Linked DNA regions of Homo sapiens: all the other regions are linked to region 5. Evidence: promoter capture Hi-C in 16 types of primary human blood cells and fetal thymus (Javierre and others, 2016). All regions are on one chromosome and are shown on one strand. Each heading gives the region's core, a stretch centred on a gene start or on the middle of the fragment in contact. The rest is flanking DNA. Distances are from core to core; before and after follow the strand shown.

The links. The method cuts DNA at HindIII sites, captures the fragments that hold promoters and counts their contacts. A CHiCAGO score of 5 or more calls a contact.
Region 1: a contact is called between a fragment that was not itself captured here and the fragment with the promoter of ANKEF1 in region 5, in 6 of 17 cell types (non-activated CD4 T cells, total CD8 T cells, naive CD4 T cells and 3 more). The highest score is 8.7, in non-activated CD4 T cells.
Region 2: a contact is called between the fragment with the promoter of ISM1-AS1 here and the fragment with the promoter of ANKEF1 in region 5, in 4 of 17 cell types (non-activated CD4 T cells, total CD4 T cells, naive CD8 T cells and 1 more). The highest score is 21.9, in non-activated CD4 T cells.
Region 3: a contact is called between a fragment that was not itself captured here and the fragment with the promoter of ANKEF1 in region 5, in 1 of 17 cell types (non-activated CD4 T cells). The highest score is 6.3, in non-activated CD4 T cells.
Region 4: a contact is called between a fragment that was not itself captured here and the fragment with the promoter of ANKEF1 in region 5, in 6 of 17 cell types (non-activated CD4 T cells, naive CD8 T cells, total CD4 T cells and 3 more). The highest score is 19.4, in non-activated CD4 T cells.
Region 6: a fragment that was not itself captured here is called in contact with the fragment with the promoter of ANKEF1 in region 5 in 1 of 17 cell types (non-activated CD4 T cells); the score reaches 6.2 in non-activated CD4 T cells.

What each region holds. Positions count from the first base shown.
Region 1 is chr20:13,775,824-13,780,260 of GRCh38, reverse strand. ESF1 (ESF1 nucleolar pre-rRNA processing protein) reads left to right here. Exons shown (of 14, transcript NM_001276380.2): 3 at 3,991-4,388. Among named protein-coding and RNA genes, the nearest start is that of ESF1, 6.9 kb to the left of the region's middle. The HindIII fragment of the contact is 2,588 bases long and covers 1,894-4,437 here.
Region 2 is chr20:13,237,449-13,241,861 of GRCh38, reverse strand. It overlaps ISM1-AS1 (ISM1 antisense RNA 1), which reads left to right and starts at 2,175. Exons shown (of 3, transcript NR_040043.1): 1 at 2,175-2,409; 2 at 2,758-2,878; 3 at 3,753-4,413. The region is part of intron 1 of ISM1 (isthmin 1); the gene reads right to left. It also overlaps a transcript of TASP1 not described here. The HindIII fragment of the contact is 6,320 bases long and covers 1,639-4,413 here.
Region 3 is chr20:13,793,427-13,797,680 of GRCh38, reverse strand. It overlaps NDUFAF5 (NADH:ubiquinone oxidoreductase complex assembly factor 5), which reads right to left. Exons shown (of 11, transcript NM_024120.5): 5 at 2,740-2,843. Among named protein-coding and RNA genes, the nearest start is that of NDUFAF5, 11 kb to the right of the region's middle. The HindIII fragment of the contact is 6,147 bases long and covers 1-4,254 here.
Region 4 is chr20:13,640,038-13,644,164 of GRCh38, reverse strand. No RefSeq gene overlaps it. Among named protein-coding and RNA genes, the nearest start is that of TASP1, 3.2 kb to the right of the region's middle. The HindIII fragment of the contact is 2,746 bases long and covers 1,364-4,109 here.
Region 5 is chr20:10,032,220-10,036,360 of GRCh38, reverse strand. ANKEF1 (ankyrin repeat and EF-hand domain containing 1) reads right to left here and starts at 1,374. Exons shown (of 11, transcript NM_022096.6): 1 at 1,028-1,374; 2 at 719-782. The region is part of intron 3 of SNAP25-AS1 (SNAP25 antisense RNA 1); the gene reads left to right. RefSeq lists a silencer at 1,034-1,583. The HindIII fragment of the contact is 1,358 bases long and covers 609-1,966 here.
Region 6 is chr20:13,211,906-13,216,201 of GRCh38, reverse strand. It overlaps a transcript of TASP1 not described here. Among named protein-coding and RNA genes, the nearest start is that of ISM1, 7.2 kb to the left of the region's middle. The HindIII fragment of the contact is 1,204 bases long and covers 1,563-2,766 here.

The DNA of each region.
Region 1 (4,437 bases), core at 1,938-4,437, 3.7 Mb before region 5:
TTTTCTTAGTTACCTTGAGCAATAAGACTGTATCAGCGAACAAGATTAAAGTGACTTATGTAAGGACATGCAGACCTGGAACTGCAACTCAAGTCTTCTGACTCCTTCTACCCCACCACATTGCTTGCAGTAATTTTGTTGGTTCCACAGTCTAGGAAAGGCATTACTCATAAATAAGGATTACACGGCTCCATATATAATCTTCTGTTCATTATCCATTCATCAGTTATTACAGCAATTACTGTGTGCAAGGGCCTTTTTAAGTGCTGTGAAGTAAAGGTGATGTGAGGACTTGCAGTGTGATATTTGTCATCATGAAATGTTCATGCCCAGCACTTGCACTCCTCAGAATCTATTTTACATAAATAATTGGATGTGTGCAAAGAATGTGCATTGCAGCATTATTTTTAAAATAAAACGGTAACTGGCTGGGCACAGTGGCTCACCTTTATAATCCCAGCACTTTGGGAGACCGAGGCGGGTGGATTGCTTGAGGTCAGGAGTTTGAGACCAGCCTAGCCAACATGGCAAAACCCGGTCTCTACTAAAAATACAAAAATTAGCTGGGCATAGTGGTGCACACCTGTAATCCCAGCTACTTGGGAGGCTGAGGCACGAGAATCACTTGAACCCAGGAGGTAGAGGTTGCAGTGAGCCAAGATCGTGCCACTGCACTCCAGCCTGGGCAACAGAGCAAGACCTTGTCTCAAAAAATGAAAATAGAAATTAAAATGGTAACAAATCATTAAGAGATTAATTAAATATATGCAAACATCTGTGATCTATGAAGTTTTAAAAATAGGTTCCAAAATAACGATATGACCAGTTATTTTAAACAAATTAGTATTTAAATTAAAGAAAAGAAATTTAGGGATATGGTTGTATACTAAAATAACCAGTTATCTTTGAATGAAAAATTACTGCTAGTCACCTTTGTTTTATTTATTAACCATATTTTCCTAACTTTTTTTGGTTTGTAATGATCATTCATTATGTTTATAATTGGGGGAAAATGGTAAAGCAGTTTTTTTGGTTTTTTTTTGTTTTTTGTTTGAAGTAGCTGGATAAGTAGTAATGTTTACAGTCACTACTAGAGCAATACTGTCTAGGAATAGAGACATTTATATTTGTGTAACCCCACATTATCTTGCACAAGGCTGTGTACATTGTGGGCTCTAAGCAGATACTTTTTGGGGTTTTTTATTTTTATTTTTGGAGACAGGGTCTCGCTCTGCTGCCCAGGCTGGAGTGCAGTGGTGCAATCACAGCTCACTGCAGCCGCAACTTCCTGGGCCCAGGTGATTCTCCCACCTCAGCCTTCCGAGTCACTGGGACCACAGGTGCACCCCACCATGCCTAGCTAATTTTTGTATTTTTGTAGAGACAAAGAGTTTTGCCATGTTGCCCAGGCTTGTCTCAAACTCCTGGGCTCAAGATCCTCCCATCTTGGCCTCCTAATATGATGGGATTACAGGCGTGAGCAGCTGTGCTCGGCTGCAGATACTTATTGAATGAATAAATACTCTGAATGCAGTTGATATTGTTAAAAACATTGAAATGGAAGACCTCTTTAAGTCTCTTATGCAACACTTTATTATTATATAACCCAAAGTGTGGTATGTGTACCATTGTCATAAGTGAGAAGATTTTTGATGATACTCAAACTTCTAAAATATTAATAGTTATGTACTGTGTCAACATCTTAGAAAACAATGTAATTACCCTATCACTTCTGTGACTTTAGGAATATTGTTTAGAGCAAAACTAACTTTTAAAAAATTCAATTTAATAAAAAAATGATATTCAAAAATCATGAAAATGGTATAATGACTGACAGTTGAGAAATATTGCAATACTAGATAGACTGGGTCTGTAAGATGTTATTTCTAAGCTTGTTGCTTAAAAGTAAATTCTGCTTACCTCATAGTAACTTTCAATGTTGTGTTTTTCAGATCTCATATATAGAACCTGTGACAATGCTTTCATTTTGGCGCTTTTCACTTCTATTGGCTAGTTATTTTTATTAATCCCTGCTTCGTTGTGGTGGTAACATAAAAGCCCATTTCCTGCTTTTCCTTCTAACAAGATGCCTTTTCATTCAGTTAGTCTCAAGTCAAGTTGTATCTTTGTGAAGCCTTTTTATAAATACCTCTCTGCAGGCAAATTTAGATGTCTCTCACTGTATGGTGATTGAGAACATAGATTTATAAATCAGTAAATGGTTACCTTTTATTTATGAATCCATCAAGAGCATGAGATCGTGTTACAAATCTTCTCTCTTTTCCCTTATCCTAGCTCAATTCTTTGTATGTAGTAGATACTCAGTAAATATTTGGTCAGTGAATAACTATTATAAGATTATAGGACCAAGAGAAAATTAGTTCCAATTTCATTCTAAATCTTGAACTTTTAAATTTGCTTTTAATTTTCCAAACTTAGAGCCTGTAAGCAGAAAATAAGCTCCAACTTAAAGATGAGTAAAACACGTAAGATATATCTACACACCAAGTAGATAGAAGCCTGTGATTGCTTTAGAAGTAGGAAATGAGCCCTTTCAGAGTTGTGAGGACTAAAATTTCCATCTTAAGCAAAAACAGTCTTTCAATCTTGGTGTATTGCTAATCATGACAGTTGATTACAAAGTTCAAGACCTGGCAGAAAAAGTATAAATATTATTTCTCTGTCTTTATAGGTGATCTCATCCACATCACAGCTTCTGTTGTCAACTGCGTATGAATGAGTCACTGATCTCCAACCCAGACTTCTCTGAGCTGTACACTCTTATTATTGATACTTTCTTTTAGATGACTGAGTGGCACTTCGTATTCAACATATTCAAAACTGAACTCATGATTTCCCTCCACCAAACAAACTAGTTCATTTCCAGTGTTCCCTTTTCATCTTTCCATCTTCTTAGCTAACTAGCTCTGAAAGCTAAGAAGCTATGACTCATCTTTGACACTTCCAAAACTCCCAGTCCCCGTGTCAAATCTCCAGTCGGTAATTATTGGTTTCACTTCCTGACTGACTCTGAAATCCATGTACATCTCTGCATACATACTGCCACCCAACTTAGTGCTACCTTCATTTCTTGCTTTTTGTACTGTACTACCTTTACTATATTCACATCTGTTCTTTACTTTCCCAAGTCAGTTTTCTACAGTATAGTCAAGGTGATCTCCTCAATATGCAAGTCTGAGGATGACAATATCCAAAAGAAGATGACATCCTCTTTTTTGAAAACAGCAGTGTCTTCCCATTGCTTTTATGAAAAAGTCCAAGCTCTCTATATGGTTTTTTGATAGCTTGGCCTCTACTTAACTCTTCATTTCCATTTGTTACTTGATTCTGTGCTATCTGTGATCTGGACATGATGGTTGGCTTTTTCCTATTGGCAGATTTTTACAGGTACCTTCCTTGCTCTTTCAAACAAATTTCCATCTATTAGTCTAACTTTGACTATTTAACTCCTGTTCATCCTTCAAGTAACAGCTCAGTTATCACTCACTTAGGGACCCCATTAAATCCCCTTAGAAAACATTCTTTCTGGGATATCTTAGTTGTGATTTTAACTTTTCCTATATATTGATTTTATTTGATATCCATGTATTCTTTTCACTCAGCTAGAAGTTTCACTGAGAGCACTGTTTGCTTCTCTTTTACCAACTGTTGTATATTGAGCACTTAGCACGTAGCAGGCACACTGTTAAGTATTGAATGAATGTCTGGATCTACTTGCGTGATGTGAGCATGTGTTAGGATTTCCATTAAATAACTTGGTTAAGTGTATTTTCCTTTACTCTGTTTCATAGAAGTTATGGTTAGGATTTCTATCATAAAAATTGACTAAGCATTTACTGAATATATATTTGTCTTTACTGTGTTTCATAGAAATTATATTTTTACTGGAGTTGATGTCAAGATAATTTGGATTCAGTTTAATTCAGCATATATCTTTTCTTAATTTCTTTCCCCTTTAACATTTTGCAGTGGTTCAACTCATAATGACAAGAGACAGTGATGGTTATGAAAACTCAACAGATGGTGAAATGTGTGACAAAGATGCTCTGGAGGAAGATTCAGAAAGCGTTAGTGAAATAGGAAGTGATGAGGAATCTGAAAATGAAATTACAAGTGTTGGTAGAGCTTCAGGTGATGACGATGGAAGTGAAGATGATGAAGAGGAGGATGAAGATGAAGAGGAGGATGAAGATGAGGATAGTGAGGATGATGATAAAAGTGACAGTGGCCCTGATCTTGCAAGGGGTAAAGGAAATATAGAAACTAGTTCTGAAGATGAAGATGATACGGCAGATTTGTTTCCAGAAGAATCTGGTTTTGAGCATGCTTGGAGAGAATTAGATAAAGATGCTCCTCGTGCTGATGAGGTAACCTTTTGAATAAACAAGATTATTTGTGAAAAACACAGTACAAGCA
Region 2 (4,413 bases), core at 926-3,425, 3.2 Mb before region 5:
TTCTGTAGGTTAGTAGCCAAGCAGGTGGGTGATGGGAACAATAAAAGCATCCAACTTGACAAACTTGCTTTATTTTAGATTCATGTCCTCAAACCCTCAAATGAATACTAAGCACTGTTCCAAAATCCAACTGCCCTTCCTTCACAACCTTACTTGCTCCAGTATCCAAGATGACCATTTTATATCTTCTCTCCTCAAACGTCCTACTTGTGCTCCTGCCCTCACTTCATATTTCACTGATGGAACAGGAGTCATGAGATGGTAACTCTTTTATTACCATCACTCTATTTATACTCCTGTCTGCATAGCTCATTTTCTTTCTCTTCCCAATTGTTACACAGAACAAGCTTTCCTGCTTCTGTGAAAGGCCAATGCTCACACATAGCCCCTTGCCTTCTTGAAGAATTCACTCCTCATTTCTCCTCTCTCAGTTTTGCATCATCAATCTCTCCCTTTCTATTGGATCGTTCTCATCAGCCTCACAGATGCCCTGGTATCTCTGATCTTACATGAACCAAAAACTCTTTTTTGACCACATGTTCATATATCTCCCCTTTTTATAGTAAAACTTTTGCAAGACTTATTTGTATATTCTGTCTCCATTTCCTCACCTTCCATTTGTTCCTTTACCCAATAGACACTGGAGTCTGTTCCCATGATGCCTCTGCAACTGCAGAGCAGTTGGTGACCTCATTCAGGTCACCAGTCATGGCTGCGTTGCCCAGTTGAATGAGCACTTCTCTGGCCTCATCTTTTTTGTTCTCACAGCAGCATTCGATAGAAGTCCTCTCTCCTTAAGGCATTCTTCTCCCCTGGCTTCTGTGACACACCTCTTGGTTCTCCTTTTACCACTTTCATCATGACACCTCACTCTCAGCTCCCTGTCCACTTCACAGCCTCCCTGCTATTATCTTCACTTACATGTCCCAGAGGCATCTCATATTCCACATGTCCCATATAAATCCACTGACATGAACTCTACCCTTGTGAAACTGGAAGCTGTCTTTGACTCTTCACTTCTTAACTCTGAAATGCAATCCAACAGCATATCCTGTTGGCTCTGTCTCAGAACTGTGCCTTGCATCCATCCACTCTTCTCTACCCTGGTCCACATCCCATCACCTCTTACCTGAATTATTGTGAAATTTTCTAACATATCTATGTTCTTCCCTCTCATTATCCACTGATCAGATGGAGCCATCATTTAGAAGCTCTTCAATGGCTGCTTCCTCACCAATCCTAGAACAGCCATATTCTTTATCATGACCTGCAAAATCCTTGCTTTTTTCTGCAAGTTCATGTGCCACTTTCTTCCTTACACACTGTTCTCCAGTCTCTTTTCCATCCCTTAGTCATGCCAAAGTCCTTCCTATCTCAAGGCTTTGGTGTTTGTGATTCCGTCTGCCTGACTGGCTCTCCTGAGTTCTTTGCAGAGCTGGTCCTTTTATTCCCCCAGCTCAGGACTCAAGTGTCACTTTTCCATCAAGTCCTTCCTTGACCACCCTCTTTTAGTAGGAACTCCCAGTTATTCCCTATCTTTTGCTCCCTGTTTATGTCCTGCTAAGCACCTATCACAATCTATAATAATTCCTTTATTCTGAATCAATTATTGTCAGTTTTCTTTCTAGAACATAAGCTTGTTCTCTATTGAATCTCCAGTGCCTAGCACAATATCTGCTGATCACAGCCACGCGATATGAAAGTGCTGAATGAATGAATGGAATTGTAGAATGCCATGTGGCTGGGCAGTGCTCAATGCTTATATGTACATTATTTCATTTGCCTTACTGCAGTTTGGTTGTATATTAAATAAAAGAGACAATTCATGTCCATTTAATTACCTTTCTGCTCCTGTAACAACCTAAGAGCAACCACCATGTAGCAGGATCCCAGCACTTTAGATGTACACTTACTCTAATTCTCTTTAGCTAAGTGGGGCTATAAAAACTTTTACAGATGTTCAGAAATGGGGGATTGTGTGGCTTCATGAAAGATGACTTGCTTTGGAGTCTGGTACTGGCTGTAGGATAAATGAATGGTATGGTCTTAGCCAAATCTTTTAATTTCTCCAGGTTTTAGATTCTTTGTCAATGAAATGAGACATTGGGGCTTGGCTTTCTTGCCTACAACAACATTCTAGAATTTGGTGAGTGTCTGCAACCTGCCTTCTAAACAGAGTGCCTCACCATGGAGTGCAGGTGGGTTGGAGCACAGATGAAGCCCCGGTCCAACCTGGGCATTCCTGCAGCCATGTGCAGTGACCCTTGTGTATGTGAGTACCTGTCATGTGCCCACGTATCCTGGTGGCACAAAAGGTACTTCATGTAGATTGTCAGGACCAAGACACAGAACGTTCTTGGGGCACACCACAATAATTCCCCCACTAGCATTCACCTTAAGATGAAAGAAGTAAGTAAAACCCTTCTCAGATCTCAGGGAGGACCCTGCAGATGGATCCCTGAAAACTTAAGGCCAAGGCCATTCATGCCCATTATTGGGTTCGTCCAGACCTTAGCATTAATCCTGGCCTTGGTGAATAAGAAGTGAAAGAACCATTGTGGGGCATGAGAGAACCACACCAGACAGAGTTTCAGGGCAATGAGTCCCTGGGGAGAACCTGGAACAGAACTTCGAATACCTAGTCTGCCACAGATTTTTTCCTGAGAACTTGCCTTTCATTATTTCTATTTAATACCTGCTGTTCAATGTTTAGATTCACTCTCTTTGTGATCCCAATGCCTCTTCAAATGTTTCCAGTTTTTTTCTAGTTGATGTGGATTCCCCAGATTTATCTCATTTCATGATGTCTTCGGAATTGCATGTTGTGCCACCATCACACTTCACACTCTCAGTAAGGAGCTCTCAGTTGTCTCACCTGGTTCGTGTCTTCCTGAATGTACCAGTGAGGGGAGCAGAGAGGGAAGGATGCACTGAGTTGTTAGCCTTTTTCCAGCAAAGTATGGAGAGCTGAACCTTTTCAGGAGTAATGGGTTAAACAGAAGTGGATGACTTGCCCACTCTTTAGAACGTTGTATCCTCTATGGGCTGATCAACTGCTATCATGAGTGAACCTGAAAGGATTATTCTGGATTGGTCAGTTTTCAGGAGGCTGGTCATTTTGATCGTAGATGTGACTTTCTCCACCACCTGGGTCAGACTCCATGTGAAGCCAAAAACATCCTGTATATTATAAATAATTTTACTTTTTTCCTTCTTGGAAAGTTAATAACATTCTTCATTTTCTGATAGGCATAAAAACAACTTTGTTGTTTTCTAGTTGAGTTCTAGTATCTGGAAATGCTAATAAGTCTGTGAGATTTTCACACTGGAATTATGTGGAGTGATGTCCATGTGGGTATTGGGGAACTATGTATAATCGATCCAGGAGTTTAATTTGGCCCCAACCCTTAAAAAAATGTTTACCCTACTGAAGGGCAGCTCCAAATAAGTTAATGAGTAATGGGCTATGAATTTTGCCATTTTGCCTGATTTTAGTGAGGTGGCCCTCTGGTTTGAAGTAGATTGCCTCTCATTAATGACCTTCTCAAGAACTTTCAGAGCCTAGGGAGAGGGCTAGAGCATAAAAATATAATTCAAATTAGTCCCCAAAAGTCACCATGTCCAGTAGAAGTCTCTCAGGCCCATGGCTGGACTTCTGGGAATGTTTGGGCAATGTAACCACAGTGATGTTTATTAAATGGAATGTCCACCTCACAGTGCTCTCAAAAGTATTCTTTTTTTTAAATTTTAAGTTATTGCTCCTCTTTATTGTAAACGATGTCCTATAAAGAAGATATATGTCTACAATTGAGCTTTGAAGGAGGACCATGGAGCCAGTTCCTTTTAAGGGGAATGAAGTCAAGCAGTAAATTTGCTGGTCACTCTTTTCATATGGACCGCATCTCAGCCAGCAGTTGGTCTTTGATGTTGTAACAATGGCACTGGGACCTGAGGCAGAGGAGCACCCCCATAATACTGAAACCAGCCTGCATTCATTCTAATTTGGAGAACAATCTGTGGGATAGTACGCACATCAGGGAGCCCAGAGAGTGAACTCCAGGGCTGTGGGTAATCTTTCCCAGTGAAAATCAGCCATCTCTTCTACACCATGTACCCTGCCTGCTGCATTCTTTACTCTTTTATTAAAATTGAAGTATGATATTCCTACAGAAATATACACATATATAACTCTACAACTCAATGAGATTTCACAAACTGAAGACACCTAGGCAACCAATGCCTAGATCAAGAGGCAAAACATTACCAGCACCCTAGCTGCCCTCCTTGGACTCCCTTTTCATCACTTCCCTGACAAAGGTAACTCTCTTCCAACAGCACAGGTTCCTTTTTCCTGGTTTTGAACTTTACCTAAACAGAATTATCCAGCATGTACTTTACTGTGCCTGGTTTCCT
Region 3 (4,254 bases), core at 775-3,274, 3.8 Mb before region 5:
ATAAACGTGTAATGTCATATATCCAATATTATAATAGTATCATAGAGTAGCTTTACTGCCCTAAAAATCCTCTGTGCTCCACCTATTCATCCTTCCCCTACACAACCCCTGGCAATCACCAATCTTTTTCACTGTCTCCAGAGTTTGCTTTTTCCAGATTGTCACAGTTGGAATTACACACTATGTAGCCTTTTCAGATTAGCTTCTGTCATTCAGTAATACGCATTTAAGTTTCCTCCAAATATTTTAATGGCTTGACAGTTTCTTTTTAGTGCTGAATAATATTCTGTTGTTTGGATACAACAAAGTTTATCCATTCACCTACTGAAGGACATCTTGGCTGCTTCCAAATTTTGGCAATTATGAATAAGGCTACTATAAACATTTGTGTGCAGGTTTTTGCGTGGACGTAAGTTTTCATCTCCTTTGGGTAAACACCAAGGAGCATGCAATCGCTGGATCGTACGCTAAGAGTATGTTTAGTTTTGTAGGAAACAACCAACCTATCTTGCAAAGTGCCTGTACCATTTCGCATTCCCACCAATAATGAACTCCACATCCTTGTCGCATTTAGTGTTGTCAGTGTCCTGGATTTTGGCCATTCTAGTAGGTGTGTGGTACATCCATTTTTTAAGGTGATAAAAACAAACAAAAACCAGAGCTGTATACACTGAAACTTAATCTCTTAAATTTTTTCCTTTTTTGAGACAGAGTCTTGCTGTTGCCCAGGCTGGAGTGCAGTGGCGCGATCTTGGCTCACTGCAACCTCTGCCTCCCAGGTTCAAGTAATTCTCATGCCTCAGCCTCTCGAGCAGCTGGAATTACAGGCATGCGCCATGACATGCAGCTAATTTTTGTATTTTTAGTAAAGACAGGGTTTCACCACGTAGCCCAGGTTGGTCTTGAACTCCTGGCCTCAAGTGATCTGCCTGCCTCGGCCTCCCAAAGGGCTGGGATTATAGGCGTGAGCCACCGTGCCCGGGCCTTGAATTTTCTTTTGACCCTACTCTCACCTAGAGTGTAGTCATGCGTGACAGCGAAAGTCATATTCCCAGTCTCCTTAGAGTACGGTCACACTTTTCTGGTATAACTGCCTCCCCTTATGCTGAGTTCCAGGACAGAACTGAATGTCCATTTCAAACCATACTGTGTTAAGCTCATGTTTATCTTTCCTAATGCTTTTCGACAAGTATTAGATACTTTAAAAACTAAGGAGCTCATACTATAAACTCTATCATACTTATGGGAAAACAGAAAGCAACAGAATTAGTCACCTGCAAATAGCAAGCAGATGAGCTAACATAAAAACTCAGGTTCTGACTCCCTGCCCAGGGTTCTTTATAGACCAAGGCTCTGCATATTTTTCATTTCATGACAGAATGTGAGTAGTTTTCTAACTTTGTTCAGCACATCTAAAAAACCAGGGAAGGAATTACACACTCACGAAAGAAAACATCAAGGGTGACCAGCTTTCCCAGAACATAAGACTTTCAGGCCAAAAGTGGCAAAGTCCTGGGCACACCTTGATGACTGGTCACCCTAAAAACAGCTATCGAAAGAGTTGAACTGGACGTGGAGAGCCTGCTGAACTTCTGAAAGAAAATCTATTTGACTATAAGACAGGAGAAAGAAGATACCACAAAGATATTTTTTCTGTTAGACTGAGTTATTTGAGGACAGGATCCCTAATTCATTTTTGTATTCACCCAAAAATCTGGCTCAGTGCCTTGTATCCTATAACCTATTTGATATATACTTGCATTACATGTTTGTGTAACATATGTGGAGGAAGATAGTAGAAAACATAAAGGGAAAAGAGTAATCTTGAGAACTACATTCTGGTACAGAATTATTATTATTTTGAGACAGGGTCTTGCTTTGTCACCCACGCTAGAGTGCAGTGGCATGATCATGGCTCACTGCAGCCTCAACTTACCAGGCTCAAGTGATCCTCCTGCCTCAGCCTCCCAAGTAGCTGGGACTACAGGCATGCGCCACCTTGCCCAGCTAATTTTTTAATTTTTTGTAGAGATGGCATTTCATTATGTTGCCCAGGCTGGTCTCGAACTCCTGGGTTCAAGCAGTCCTGTTACTGCAGCCTCCCAAAGTGTTGGGATTGCTGGTGAGAGCCACTGTACCTGGCCAGAAGAATTAAGGCTAAAGGAAAACTAGCTGTCCTAGTTTGAGTTTGTCCAGAATGAGTTTGTCCAGAATTTGTCCAGAATGAGTTATGATTGTTGGGAGCAGGAGTTTGAAAGAATATATTCTATGCTCTCTGGTGGAGATAATATGATATAGTGCCTCAACTTTTTTTTCCCCCAACTTGCTAAACTCATCTGTGATAGAAGGGTTTTCTCCCCAATGTAACTTATTATTTTGGAATTGCTCTAACATTTGAATACAGGAGCCAATATGCTCTTTCAAACTCCTGCTCCCAACAAGAGCAATTCCAAAATATTAAGATGCACTGGGGAGAAAAACCTTCTATCACAGATGAACTTTAGGAAGTTCATGCATGCCACCACGCCCAGCTACCTTTTTTGTATTTTTAGTAAAGACAGGGTTTCAACATGTTGGCAAGGCTGGTTTCAAACTCCTGACCTCAAGAGATTCACTCGCCTCGGCCTCCCAAAGTGCTAGCATTACAGGCGTGAGCCACCGCTCCTGGCCTCATAGCAAAACTTTATGGCAAGAATGATCTGTTTATAACATATGGTTTTTAAAAAGTGGATTACCAACCTTAAACTGCTAACCACCAGGTCAAATGTATTTTCTTTGAAGGGAAGGAATTCTTCATCAGCTAAAACGCTGACAGTAGGTATTTCTGTTTCTGAGGAATTTTTCTAATGTTAAGAAAACGAAAGATCAAAATCACATTTATGTAGAATCTCAATTACTAACACAATCACTGTTTGTTAAATTGAAGTCAATGTTATATTTACTTGGCAGTTTCTACCCCCCTTCCCAAAGGTGGCACAGAGAAGGCACCCAAAAAGCATTTCTTAAATGACTTAACATCAGCCAGAAAAAATGGCTAACTAGTTGAAACAACATAAACAGGATACCAACCTCACACCAAAACAAATCTCAGAAAGCTAGTTTGGCTGGGCGTGGTGGCTCACGCCTATAATCCCTGCACTTTGGGATGCCAAGGTGGGCAGTCACTGAAAGTCAGGAGTTCGAGACCAGCCTGGCCAACATGGTGAAACCACGTCTCTACTAAAAATACAAAAATTAGCTGGACGTGGTGGCACGCACCTGTAATCTCAGCTACTCGGGAGGCTGAGGCAGGAGTATCGCTTGAACCCGGGAGGCGGAGGTTGCAGTGAGCTGAGATCGCACCACTGCACTCCAGCCTGGACAACAGTGCAAGACTGTCTCAGAAAAAAAAAAAGAAAAAAGAAGGCTGAAAGTTTTAGTGAAACAACCGAAGTACTAGATGAAAATATGGGTGGACTGGACATTTTACCCTTAGATGAAAAAGCCTAGGTAAACATAATTCAAAAGCCAGAAACTGTAAAGGAAAAGACTGATATATTTGATGATAAACTAATTAAAAACTTCTATTAATAGAAATCAATAAACAATGTAAACAACTGAGGAAAATATTTACAACATATACAATGAAGGATTAATATCCCTAAAAACCAAGCTCTTACAAATCACCTAGAATAAAAACACAAGATAGCTAAAGAGGACAAGGTGCAGGCATATCACAAAATTATTTACAAAATTCACAAGAAATACCAATAGTCAAAAGATATCAGCAGCTGTCAGACTGACCCAGACGAAAAGGCTGGCCCAGTGTTGCCAAAGCAAAGTAGTAAAAAGTACCTTTGTCATTGTTCAGTCTTTCTAAGGGCAGTCTGAAGATGTATGTCAAAAAATTTTTAAATGAACATCAAAATGAATCCATAAATTCCGCTACCAGGAATTTATACCCACGGAAAAAAATAAATCAAACATACAATGTGGCTTCACATAAGGATTTTCACTGCAGTGTTGGTTATTGAGAAACTAGAAACGTAACTGCCCTTCAATAGAAAGTTTAGCTAAATAAACTATGGAGTATTCATATATTAGAATACCATGTAGCCATTTAAAAAGATGATATATGACACACATAAGTATAAATTCACTGACAAAAAAAATGATGTGCCGTAAATAACATGGAATATTAGCATAGTAATGTTCATACACAGTTGTGTGTTGGGGGGGCGGGGACAGTTATATGTCTGCAAATGTGGAGACCAA
Region 4 (4,127 bases), core at 1,487-3,986, 3.6 Mb before region 5:
CCCTGCTGGTGGGAATGTAAATTAGTTCAGCCACTGTGGAAGGCAGTCTGGAGATTTCTCAAAGAACTTAAAACAGAAATACCATTTAACCCAGCAATCCCATTACTGGTATATGCCTAAAGGAATATAAATTGTTCTACCATAAAGACACACATGCATATGTTCATTGCAGCACTATTCACAATGGCAAAGACATGCAGTCAACCTAGATGCCCATCAACGATGGACTGGATAAAGAAAATGTGGTACTGATACACTATGGAATACTAAGCAGCCATAAAAGAGAATGAGATCATGTCCTTTACAGCAACATGGATGAAGCTGGAGGCCATTATCCTAAGCAAACTAACGCAGGAGGAGAAAACCAAATATCACATTTTGTCATTTGTAAGTGGGAGCTAATCACTGAGTACACATGGACACAATGCAGGGAACAATAGACACCCGGACCTACTTGAAGGTACATAGTGGGAGGAGGGTGAGGATCAAAAAACTACCTATCAGGTACTATGCTTATTACCTGGGTGACAAAATAATCTGTACACCAAACTCCTGCAGCACACAATTTACCCATGTAACAAACCTGTACATGTACCTCTGAACCTAAAAGTTGGAAAGAAAACACAATGTAATGGATAAATTATCTCAGTGAAATACCACATGGCAAGGAGAATAAACATCCAACGTGGACTAATCTCAACGTGTGACATTAATACACATAAAAGAGTTTTCATACTGTAAAATTCCATTCATATAATGTTTAAATATAGAGAAAATGGATGTGTGATGTTAGATGTCAGGATTACCCTGGGGCGAGGTCATGATTTTTTTCACTTGATCTGAGGAATGGTTACACACTGTGTTTACTATATGAAGAATCATCAAGCTGTACTTTTCTGTATTTATGTTTAACATCAATAAAATGTTTTTTTTTCTTTTTAAATCTCTGTTCTAGCTGGGTGCAGTTGCTCACATCTGTAGTCCCAGCTACTTGGGAGACTTAGGCAGGAGGATGGCTTGATCCCAGGAGTTTGAGGCTGCAGTGAGCCATGGTAGCATCGCTACACTCCAGCCTGGGTGCTACAACAAGACACTGTCTCAAAAAAATAAAAAATAAAAAATAAATAAAGATAGCCCCATCTTTATGGAACTGACTTTACAGGAGAGATGATTAATAAACTAAAAGAATGGGGAAAATTGTAGAGGATTAGTTGGGGTGTGTGCTACTGATAGAGATAAAACAGGAAGGAGAACAGGCAGGGTAGTGTGATTGCAATTTAAAATAAGGTGGTTAGGAAAAAGTGATTGAGAAGCTGACACTGGTTCTGGTTCAGCAAATTGTATTTCATGTTTATAACAAGCTTATGAGAATGGGGGGACACTCTTTACATGTTACAATAAAAAAGCTAAGAGATTGCAGAGAAAGGTGTTAAATCACAAACTGGTCAGACAGTTTGTTGTGCAGGAAGAATATTTATATTGCCCTATGAATGGGGGATGACAACATAGCTGGCCAGATAATTGACAGACAACAAGGATGAAACCAGAGATGGCAGGTGGGCCACCTTTCATCTTACCAGTCTTCGTCAGGGCTCCGAAGACAATGTGTTGTCATCAGGGCTTGACATGGGAGTCAAGTAATCTCTGGATTATTTGTCTTGCTCAAAATTTTATATATTAAAGAAGATAAAAGGAATTTGTTGGAAGGATAGGGAGTACCTAAGATAATTGAAAGAAAAACTAAGGAAGCAGGTTTTGGAAAAATACAAGCTCTGGAGCAGTAACAGGGAACTCTGTAACCTTGGTTGAATAAACAACTGCTTTTACTCTTTGCATTATTGCTGTCAATTTTCAAATTCCAGGCAAGAAGCAGCTTTAGCTTAGCATGGGTCAGTTGATCATCCCACGGAGCATCCTGATGGACAGTCCCACTTACGCTGGGTGCAAGTGGTGAAGGGCAGTCCCTGGAAGTGAAGTGGGGTGCTGTTAGGAGAAATAAGAAGGAATTCATGCTGGGCAGGCGAAACAACTGTTGTCTACCATAGGACTGCTTGAAGGGTTGTCGCAGTCCATCTATAATTGAAACTTTCTTTTTTCCACGTGGTAGGCAAAATTCTAAGATGACCTGCAAGATTTCTACCCCTGGTGCACAGACCCTGTATGATCCTCTCCCCTGGAGTGTGGATGGAAGCTGAGAATATGATGGCCATCCCTCCTGAAACTTGACGACGAATCATTGACTCTGTGTTCATCAAAGGAGAGATTATCCTGGGGGACCTGACCTAATCAGTTGAGTCCTTTCAAGGTGGAAAAGTCAGAGAGGACTGCTCCTCCTGACCTTGAAGAAGACAAAAGTGGCCAGCTCTACAGCTGCAAGGATTTGAATTCTGCCAATCACCTGAATGAGCTTGGAGAATCGCTCTGGGCATCCGATGAGATGGCAGCTCTGACTGACACCTTGATTTCAGCCTTCTGAGATCTGAGCAGAGACCTGGACACCTGATCCACAGAAACGGAAATATTACATTTGTGTTGTCTTAAGCAGGTGAATTGGTGTTAACTTGCGGCACAACAATTGAAAACTATCACTATTGTTCTGCTACATTTCTGACACATGTGTTAAAGCAATAGTTTTCCAGGAATACAAAACAAAGGGAGACCCCCAGGGAACCAGGACAGAGGGGGCTTACTTAGAGTACAAAGATCAAGATGCAGCAGACATGATTATTTGAGATAAAGGAAGTAATTCCTCAGCTTGCTGCTTTTCCGGGTTTGGGAGAGGTGGGAACAGGAAGAGGGAGGCAACCAGATTTTTTCTGAAGGAGATTTACTAGTATAGACTTTCCTTTCAAATTTAACATGTTGAGTTAATCAAATAGATATTACAACTGTTCGTTATTAATATTTCAAAGGATCTCATTGTTACTGTACCCAATGCAGGTTAAAAATGTTAAAACTTGGGTCTGGGCTGGGCATGGTGGTTCATGCCTGTAATCCCAGCACTTTGGGAGGCCGAGATGGGTGGATCACCTAAGGTCAGGAGCTCGAGACCAGCCTGGCCAGCATGACAAAACCCCATCTTTACTAAAAAGACAAAAATTAGCCGGGCGTGGTCACGGGCACCTGTAATCCCAGCCACTGGGGAGGCTGAGGCAGGAGAATCACTTGAACCGGGGAGGCAGAGGTTGCAGTGAGCTGAGATCGCACCACTGCATTCTAGCCTGGGCAACAGAGTGAGACTCTGCCTCAATAATAATAATAAAAAAAAGGGTCCGAAGAATTTTGTTACTTTTACTTGAGCAGTATTCACCTACCAGAGGATGGCCTGTGTGGCATCTGGGTGTGATACCCAAGACAAAAGTATACAGAGCAGCACTGGGAGATGATTATTACAATGTAGTTAAATTCCAGGAAGAATGTTGCCTAAGAAATGGAAGGGAGCATGTCTATGTCTTTTTAAAACTTTAACATCTTTCTTTTATTCCTGCTGGTTCCAGTTAATATTGCTGTGTAAAAATCCACTTTAAAGGTGCAAAAGAACAACTATTTTATTATGCTGATGGATTCTGCGGGTGAGGAATTCAGAAAGGTCACAATGGGGATGGTTTATGTCTGCTTCCTAATGCCTGGGCCAAACTTTCTGGCACTATATAACAAGGGCCCCATTTTCTCCAGCTTCCAATAACATCTTCCTTAGCTCCCTTTAAGCCCTCATTGGCAGCTTCCTCAAGTCCTTTTAGACTCTTGTTAATACTTTGGATCCCTTCCTGCTCTTGCTGCTTCACCTAGTTCCAAAGCCAGTGCCACACGTTTTACTTTTATGATGTTATTATGTTATGTTTTGTTATAATATCCATCCTACTTCTAGGTAACAAAATCGGTTTCAGTTACTATTGCTATGTAATAAACTGTTATTCTTACTATGTAATAAACTTCTTCCCCTTGCCCCTCCCTAAGAAGTCAGTGGTAGAAGAGAAAGAAAAAAAGCCCCAAGTTACATAATAAAACCACATAGGTTATATTTATAATAATGGTATCAGTGGTTCTCGAACTTTTTGGTTTCAGCATACCTTTATACTCCCCAAAATAGTAGAGAACACTCCAAAGCTTTTGTTTCTGTGGGTTAC
Region 5 (4,141 bases), core at 125-2,624:
TGGAATAGGGCAAGATGCTCCTACATAGGTAATGATTAGACTGAATCAATGCCACTTGATTTGTGAAAATAAGGATTTCCCAATCAGGGACTTCAATGTTGCCTCTGTTAGCACCCATCTCTAACGGAGAATTAATTAGCAGCTACAGTGATGAATTCAGTAGGTCCATGGGTCGGTTTCCTGTGGACTGCCTCCCTCCCAGCTAAAGCCCTGAAGTGCTGGGGAGAGGGCAGCACCCTGTATAGTGTCCTTCACAATCAACTGCTAAGACTGACCAAGAGCTCACCCCACTGCAGGAAATCACACAAGTGTAGCCCTTGGGTCCTGGGTTCCTTGTAAATTGAGCAGCATATAGGATCCTCCACATACAAGCACACCTGTACTTTTCCCCAGCATGACCCTGGGCCACCTTAGTCACATCTAACCATCTACCAAGGTAGTGGAATAGAGCAGAATGTCTTGACTTGAGGTCCATGTTCGGGGTCTGAATACTCGGAAATTACATGAAAATCTGTGGGAATCTGTGTGTGTTCAGGTCATTTAACTCTCAAAGGGGGGCTGTGCGACAAGGAAGGATCATTAGAAAGAGGAATGGAGGAAGACAAGCTTGGTACAGTGGAATGTAGGGTTTGAGGTGGGGAAATCCGTTGTGATCCTCCCTTCCCTGTATCATTATTTACACAAACTAGTTGGATATAAATATGGATATGCTACCTACCTAGTTTTTACCTCAGTTTCTGCATCTGTGAACTGGCAATAGCAATGGTGCCCACTTCATGGGACTGTGTGAAAAGGAAATGAGATATGATCCTTGTAAAACATTTAGCAAAGTCCTTCAATATAGGCTCCTTATGAATACACCAAACTTTTGCGGGTTTCAGCTCACCCACAAGTGTAAGCGATAGTTTACATGTTGGGGGTTCTCTACTGTGCTTTCCACTTTTTAGTCTCCAGAAAAATCTGGAGAAGAGAGGAGTGGAGGGGGTAGAGATGTAACGTCAAAGGAAAAGCCATGTGTCATGCTCACCTCTTAGTCTTCCGGGCGATCAGAAGCCAGGGATCTCTGGGCACCTATGTGCCTGGGCCTGCTGGGGCGACCGGGGAGGCCCCTGCTCTCGTCCTCTGACGCTCAGCGCTGGCCCAGCCGCGACCTTGGGCTCCCGGAGCCCGGCGGAGGCGCCCAGGCGTGAATGATGTCCCTTGGGTAGGGCTGGTGAGCTGGCGCGCGGGACAGCAGGGCTGGGTGTATGTGTCCATGGGCCCCGGGTCCCCGGAAGGCGAGCGCGCGGGCAGGTGAGCGCAGGGGGCGGGGTGGAAGCCGGAGGGACCGGGCTGATTGTGAGCTTCCGCCACGCAGGGCGCGGCTGCCGGGGCAACCGCAGCGTGCGCGGTGGGGCGGTGCTCGCCTCCGCCTCCGCCTCCGCCTCCGCCTCCGCCTCCGCCTCCGCCTCCGCCTCCGCCCCCGCCCCCGCCTCCGCCTCCGCCCCTCGCGCCTGGCTTCGACGCCAGGTGGCCGGCCTGGGCGGGATGGGGTAGCTGCGCTGGGTGTTCCAGGGCGGAGCGCAGAATGCTGCTGTCTTGAGGATTCCGCCCTTCTCTCATTCTCTTCTCCCACCTCCTGCCCTGGGTCAGAACGTAATTTAGTTATAAAATTAAAGCTGCATATGGCAATTAAAAAATGAAGTAAAATATACAATAAATATTTAGTTTACAAAGTACAATTAAATGAAAAATACAATAAATTACACAATAAAGCGAAAGTGAACCTACTCTCAACTGCCACAGATTCTTGCAAATCTTCCCAGAAATTTTCTTTCCATACTCTAGGATGCATATATGCTTAAAAAATATTTATACACAAATGGAAGCAAATATGGAGATCACTTTATTTCAGGGCCTACAAATGCACCATAACACCCCTCTCTCTCCCTCCACACATGCTTTTTGGCGGAAAATTCTGAAAGCTTTGGTTTGATTATGTGAATGTAAAACATATATATGTGTGTCTATATATATATGCTTTTTAATGCAGTATGTAATTGCTTCCAATTAAAAACAGTAATTCCTTACACCAGCCTACCCTATTCTACTCAGAGACTGTTTAAAAATGTTAAGAGCGAAGACATGGAATCAACCTAAGTGCTCATCAATGATAGACTGGCTAAAGATAATGCGGTACATATACACCATGGAATACTATGCAACCATATAAAGGAACAAAATTATGTCTTTTGCAGGAATATGGAGCTGGAGGCAATTATCCTTGGCAAGCTAACGCAGAAACAGAAAACCCAATACTGCATGTTCTCACTTATGAGTGAGAGCTAAGTGATGAGAACACATGGACACATAGAGGGGAACAGCACACACTGGGGCCTATTGGAGGGTAGAAGGTGGAGAGTGGGAGGAGGGAGAGGATCAAGAGAAATAACTAATGGGTACTAATCTTAATACCTGGGTGAGAAAATAATTTGTGCAACAAAACCACATGACACAAGTTTACCTATATAACAAATCTGCACATGTACCCCTGAACTTAAACGTCAAATAAAAAATAATAAAAATGTTATTAAGGACTATTTCATGCACACCAAAATATACTGTATGATATATGGAAAGTACATACCATACCATACCATAGCTAAAGAAATACCATAGCTAAAGAAAAAGAAAGCTAGGAAAAATAAAGGAAAAAGGAAAAGGAAAAAAAAGTCTGCCTCTACTGCTGTACTTATATGTATTTCTTCCCAACACTGCATCCTCCTCTTCCTGTTCCCAGAGATAATACCTGTTCTGAATTTTACATTTATCATCCCAGCCTCTTAAAAATGCATTGCTACATTGAATGCCTCCCTAAATAATGCATGTTTAATATTGCATATTTTGAGAATTTATAAAAATGTGGTAGAATGTTGTGTATTGTTTTGATGACTTTTTTCCTTTCAACGTCTTGTTTTTGAAATGTATCTTTGTTGGTATGTTTAATTGGAGTTCCTTTATCTAAACAGCTGTAGGCTATTCCATTATATTACCATTCCACACCCCTTTCAAATCAATTCCACTATTGATAGACATTTGGGATGTTTCCAGAATTTGCTACTAAAAGCAATACTACTAAGATCATGTTTATAAATGTCTTTGGACGCACACGTTCAAGAGTTTCACTAGAGTATATGTCTAGGAGTTAAATTTCTGGGTCATAGGTTATTTATAACATCAAGATAAAGACAACTTGTTTTCCCGACATATACAGCAATTTAGACTCCCATCAGCAGTGTGTATCTTAGCCAAAACTTGGTTTTGTCACACAAAAAACTTTCTGCCAATCTTGGTATCAATGCTCTTTTATAATTTACTTTACGTGACCTGATTACTAATTATTAATCTGTAAGTTTGATTCCTTAGAGATATTTGAGTGTAAATTTATTGTCAAACTGTGTCCAAAATTGGTGGGTTCTTGGTCTCACTGACTTCAAGAATGAAGCCAGGGACCCTCGCGGTGAGTGTTACAGCTCTTAATGTGGCGCATCTGGAGTTTGTTCCTTCTGATGTTCGGATGTGTTCGGAGTTTCTTCCTTCTGGTGGGTTCGTGGTCTCGCTGGCTCAGGAGTGAAGCTGCAGACCTTCACGGTGAGTGTTACAGCTCTTAAGGCGGCGCTTCTGGAGTTGTTGGTTCCTCCTGGTGGGCTCGTGGTCTCGCTGGCTTCAGGAGTGAAGCTGCAGACCTTCGCAGTGAGTGTTACAGCTCATAAAAGCAGTGTGGACCCCAAGAGTGAGCAGCAGCAAGATTTATTGCAAACAGTGAAAGAACAAACCTTCCACAGTGTGGAAGGGAACCCAAGCGGGTTGCCACTGCTGGCTCAGGCAGCCTGCTTTTATGCTCTTATCTGGCCCCACCCACATCCTGCTGATTGGTAGAGCCGAGTCCTCTGTTTTGACAGGGCGCTGATTGGTGCGTTTACAATCCCTGAGCTACACCCAAAGGTTCTCCATGTCCCCACCAGATTAGCTGGCTACAGAGTGTGGACACAAAGGTTCTCCAAAGCCCCACCAGAGTAGCTAGATACAGAGTGTGGCTTGGTGCGTTCACAAACACTAAGCTAGACACAGGGTGCTGATTGGTGTGTTTACAAACCTTGAG
Region 6 (4,296 bases), core at 915-3,414, 3.2 Mb before region 5:
AAGTCATTCTAGGTCTCTGTCTGATCGATACAGGACTCCACATTCTGTCCATGAGGGCAGTGTGCTTGTTTGCCTCATTCACTTCTGAATTCACATAGTAAATGCTCCATAAATATCTATTCAATGAATGAAACTTTTAGAAAACTGCTGAAATTTGGAGCTCCAAGGAGCCTTAGAGGTAAACTGGAAGCCCTCAAGGAAACACAAACGAACAGAAAGCCTGAAGTGTTGTTCCATTAGAGCCTCTCCTTTGAACTACGAAGGGGTCACAGTGCTCAGAAATGAGAAAATCACCACAATCAGAGGTGCTCCCAGGGTCTCCACCCCTGAAAGCAGCTGCCAGGCTTGTGGGACACCTGGATCGCCAGCAACATTCCACTTCCCTATGCTCCAACACACACAAAACCTATGAAGACTGGGGTTCACCTGTAGCTCTTTTCACTTCATGCTAAAAGCCCCTAGCTGTACAGAGAATGCAAGAGACCACCAAATAGGTGAGTTTCTGAGGAGGTCAAGAAACTATTCCAGAGGGAGTGCTATTCTTCCCCAGAACAAGGCTGGAGCGGTGGTGAAATAGGACCGGCTTCTTGGAAGCATTCCTGATGATTCTCCCTGACATGCCAGACTCCTTTACTGCATTTCTGTGTGATATTAAAACATAATGACCTGCTCCTCCAGTGACCTCTTCTGCAAATAGCCAACCCTTATAGTTCCTATCTGCATTGAAAAGAGACCCCTTTATTGCATTTGCTTTGTTGTTATTATTTCCGTGCAAATTCTGGAAAGCAAAATAGAATCTCAGGCACATGTTATAACTGGGGGAGAAAAGTGCATCATAATTACAAGGTTATGTAATTTCCAGGCAAAAAAGAGAACAAACTATTTGGTCAGAATTAAATCTTGGGGTCTACATGTTGGGAAGGGCCCACAGAGTTCATTTAGCTTCCTTTACAGTTGAGGCAACAGGCCCAGAGAATTAAATAGACATTCTCAATATTGCACAGGGACTTGGTAGCAGCATCAGGACAAGAGCCCAGGTTTCCTAACTTCCAAGACCAACGTGCTTTGTATTTCTCAAAGTAAACTTTCAAAAATTAAAGTATGCTGTACATATAGAAAACAGCATGTATCCTGGGTGCATATCCAAATGGAATTTTTGCTACTCCGATCAAGAAACAGAATGTTACCAGTACCCCAGAAGCCAATTACCTGAAAGTTACCAATATTCTGACTTCTCTCACCATACATTTGATTTGCCTTTGAAAATTAATATAATTGAATTTTACAGTATATACTCTTTTGTGTCTGGCTCCTTGCGCCATCCTCTATTACTTTTTGCTTTAAAATAAATGGAAAGCTATAGAAAAGTTGCAAGCATAATTGAATGAACATCTGTAGTTCCTTGTGGTAGACTGTTTAAAATGACCACAGTTTTCTCACCATTGTCTCCAGGCTTTTTACAAGCTGGCTTTGTACCCGTGGAATCCTTGTGATTTACTTTCACTAGCAAAACGCAGCAGAGGTGATGTTGTACCAGTTCTGTGGTTAGGTTTCAATAAGCTTTACATGCCTCCTTTCTCTCTCAATCTCTCTCTCTGTCTCTGTCTTTCTGTCTCTCTCTCTCTCTCTCTCTCTCTCTGTGTGTGTGTGTGTGTGTGTGTGTGTGTGTGTGTGTGTGTGTGCCTGTCTCTGTATTGGAACTTTCCCACTGCTATGTTGGTAATCCAGGACTAGCCTGCTGGAGTGATCCTAGTCACCACTGTTGCCCCAGCTGACACCTGCCTATTCTCAGAAGCAGAGCCACCTAGTAGACCTACAGTTCATCGCAGACACATAAGAGAGCTTAAGAGAACACAGCTGAAACCAGAGAAAGCACCCAGGTAAGCTGAGCCTAAATAGAATAAGGGGCAAAATAAATGGTTGCTCTTGTGAATAGGGTAGTTCATCACACAGAGAAACCTGCTAAATACAACCTTTCACCTCAAATACTACAGTAGGTATTTCTTAAGAGTAAGGAGATCCTCCTACATCATCACAGCATAATTCTCAGGACGTTTAACATCAACACAATAATATGATCTAACTTATAAACCACATTCAAATGGTTCAAATTGTCCCTATAATATTCTTTACAGCGACTCTTTTCTGTCCAGGATTCAGGTGAGAATCACTCTGCATTTTATTGTCATTGTCATGTCTGTTTATCACCTTCGGTCTTCAACAGTCCACATCTCCCAGTCCTCCTTTTTCTTTTGGTCTTTTGTGCCATTAACATTCTTTGAAAGCCTAGGTCAGCTGATTTTGCAGAATGCCCTTCAGTTTGTATTTGTATGTTTGTTTCTCTAGGATTAATTTCGGATTATGTGTTTGGGCTAGGGATACTGCCTGGATAATGTTATGTTCTTCTCAGTGCATCACATCAGGGAGTCCCTGATGAGATTTTTCCCAATTGTGGGTAAATCTATTTCAAGATACGGAGATGCTAAGTCATTTTTGTGAGGTTAAATGGGAAAAATTCTTGATTGAGAATATGTTGGTGTGTTGGCTATCTTTTTCTTATGTGTGGAGAAAGGGGAAACATGAGTTCATCTAATTTCCTGGGAATTTACTTCACTTTGTTCCAAGTTGTTTGTCAACATCATCCAACTCCCTCAGGGCAGTGGGCTGTGACCATATTAGAGGAGGGCTGTCCTCAGGGTGAACTCTATGAATCAGTAATTTTGTCTGCTGCAATCAAAAGTCATTATCAATCCATTCTTAAAAGCTTAGCCTTAAATTCTTTTTTTTGTTCACTTTGTTTTGGGGAGCAAGTCAGGCTTGGTGTAAGACAAAGGAGAAATAAATTTGTTGTTAATGAAAATTGTTTTTAGTGATTTAAAAATAATAAATACCTTAGCTTTATGTTGCATTTTTTAAAAAGCACAAGGAATATAATTATACCCTAGGGAAGTCAAAAGAGCTCAGTGAAATAAAGAAAAAATCCAACAGGCTAGAAGTTTTAACTCTTTTTTTTTAATAACTAAAGAGTAGTTGAAATAATCTTTCAACAACTTCAGTTCAGATTATATCTGAAAGAAAGCTAAAACTGATTAATTTGCATTTAGAAGTGGAATTTAATCCAGCCATTCCTCAGCAGAGAAAGATCAAACTGACACCTCTAAGATGCCACATCAGAGATGTCTCCACTTAAAATAGCTTTGCGACTGGCTGGTTCTAACGTCTTTACTAATAAACACAAGATCTCATCATCAATGCTTGTGGCGAGGATTTCACAATGACTCAGGGTGTAGTGCCTCATTTGTGAGCCAGATGTGTCTAAACTGAAATCTGAAGATTCTCACTTGTAAACTCTAAACAGGATGATGAAAGTTAAATGAGAAATAGCTTTGTAGAGGAATAAGCATGAAAGAGCTGTTTACACGTTTTGGAATGCAAATTTAGCGTGGTTGTTATTTTATAAAGGTTGAGATTTTCCTTTATTTACCTGGGGTCTAACTTGATTCTGAAATTGTAGTTTAGTAAATAACCATCAACTTTTATCCATAATAAGTGATAAACAAAAAGTAGTGTTTTGGAATAAAGGTTTTATTTGTCGGGGCCATGAAAGCCAAATAATTAAAACTTTAAAGGGATGTTTTGGTTACTCACAAAGATTGAAAGATATACTGTTCTCACACTTTTGTGTGTGTGTGTGTTTCTGTGAGTTAACAACGTGATGGTAATATCAGGCATGGTAATATTGAAAAACCAGTTATACTTGTAGTAGTCAGGGAAAGTAACATTGGTTGCTATAACAAACAATCCCTCCAAAGCCCAATGGCTTAGCATAATAAAAGTTTGCTTTTTGTTTATGCTGCAATACTCTTCATACTTTGGTATCCAAAGGGCAGTCTTCCTTTGATGAGGGGACCCAGGCTCCTAATTAGTGGCTGTACATTTTGTAGAACATTCATATAGCACACAAGTGAAGAGAGAAAAAGTATATGGAGGCTCAGCATGCTTTAAGGGCCAGATCACTTGCCATTGACCAGAACTTAGTTACACCGACCCCACCCAACTGCAAGAACAGTTGGGAAATAAAGAATTCCTATAATGCTTAGGAGGCAAAGGAAATGGGTATGTTGAATGCACAATGCTGTTTCCACATAGAATTATCTCTGCCAAAAACCCCACTCCATTTCATTAGTATGAATGAAGATCGTAGTGTCATAGGGGGACTAGAGTGAGGGTCAGCAATTTCTTTCCTATTAAGCACTGGATAGTAACCATTTTCAACTTCGTGCCACAAGAAGAAAA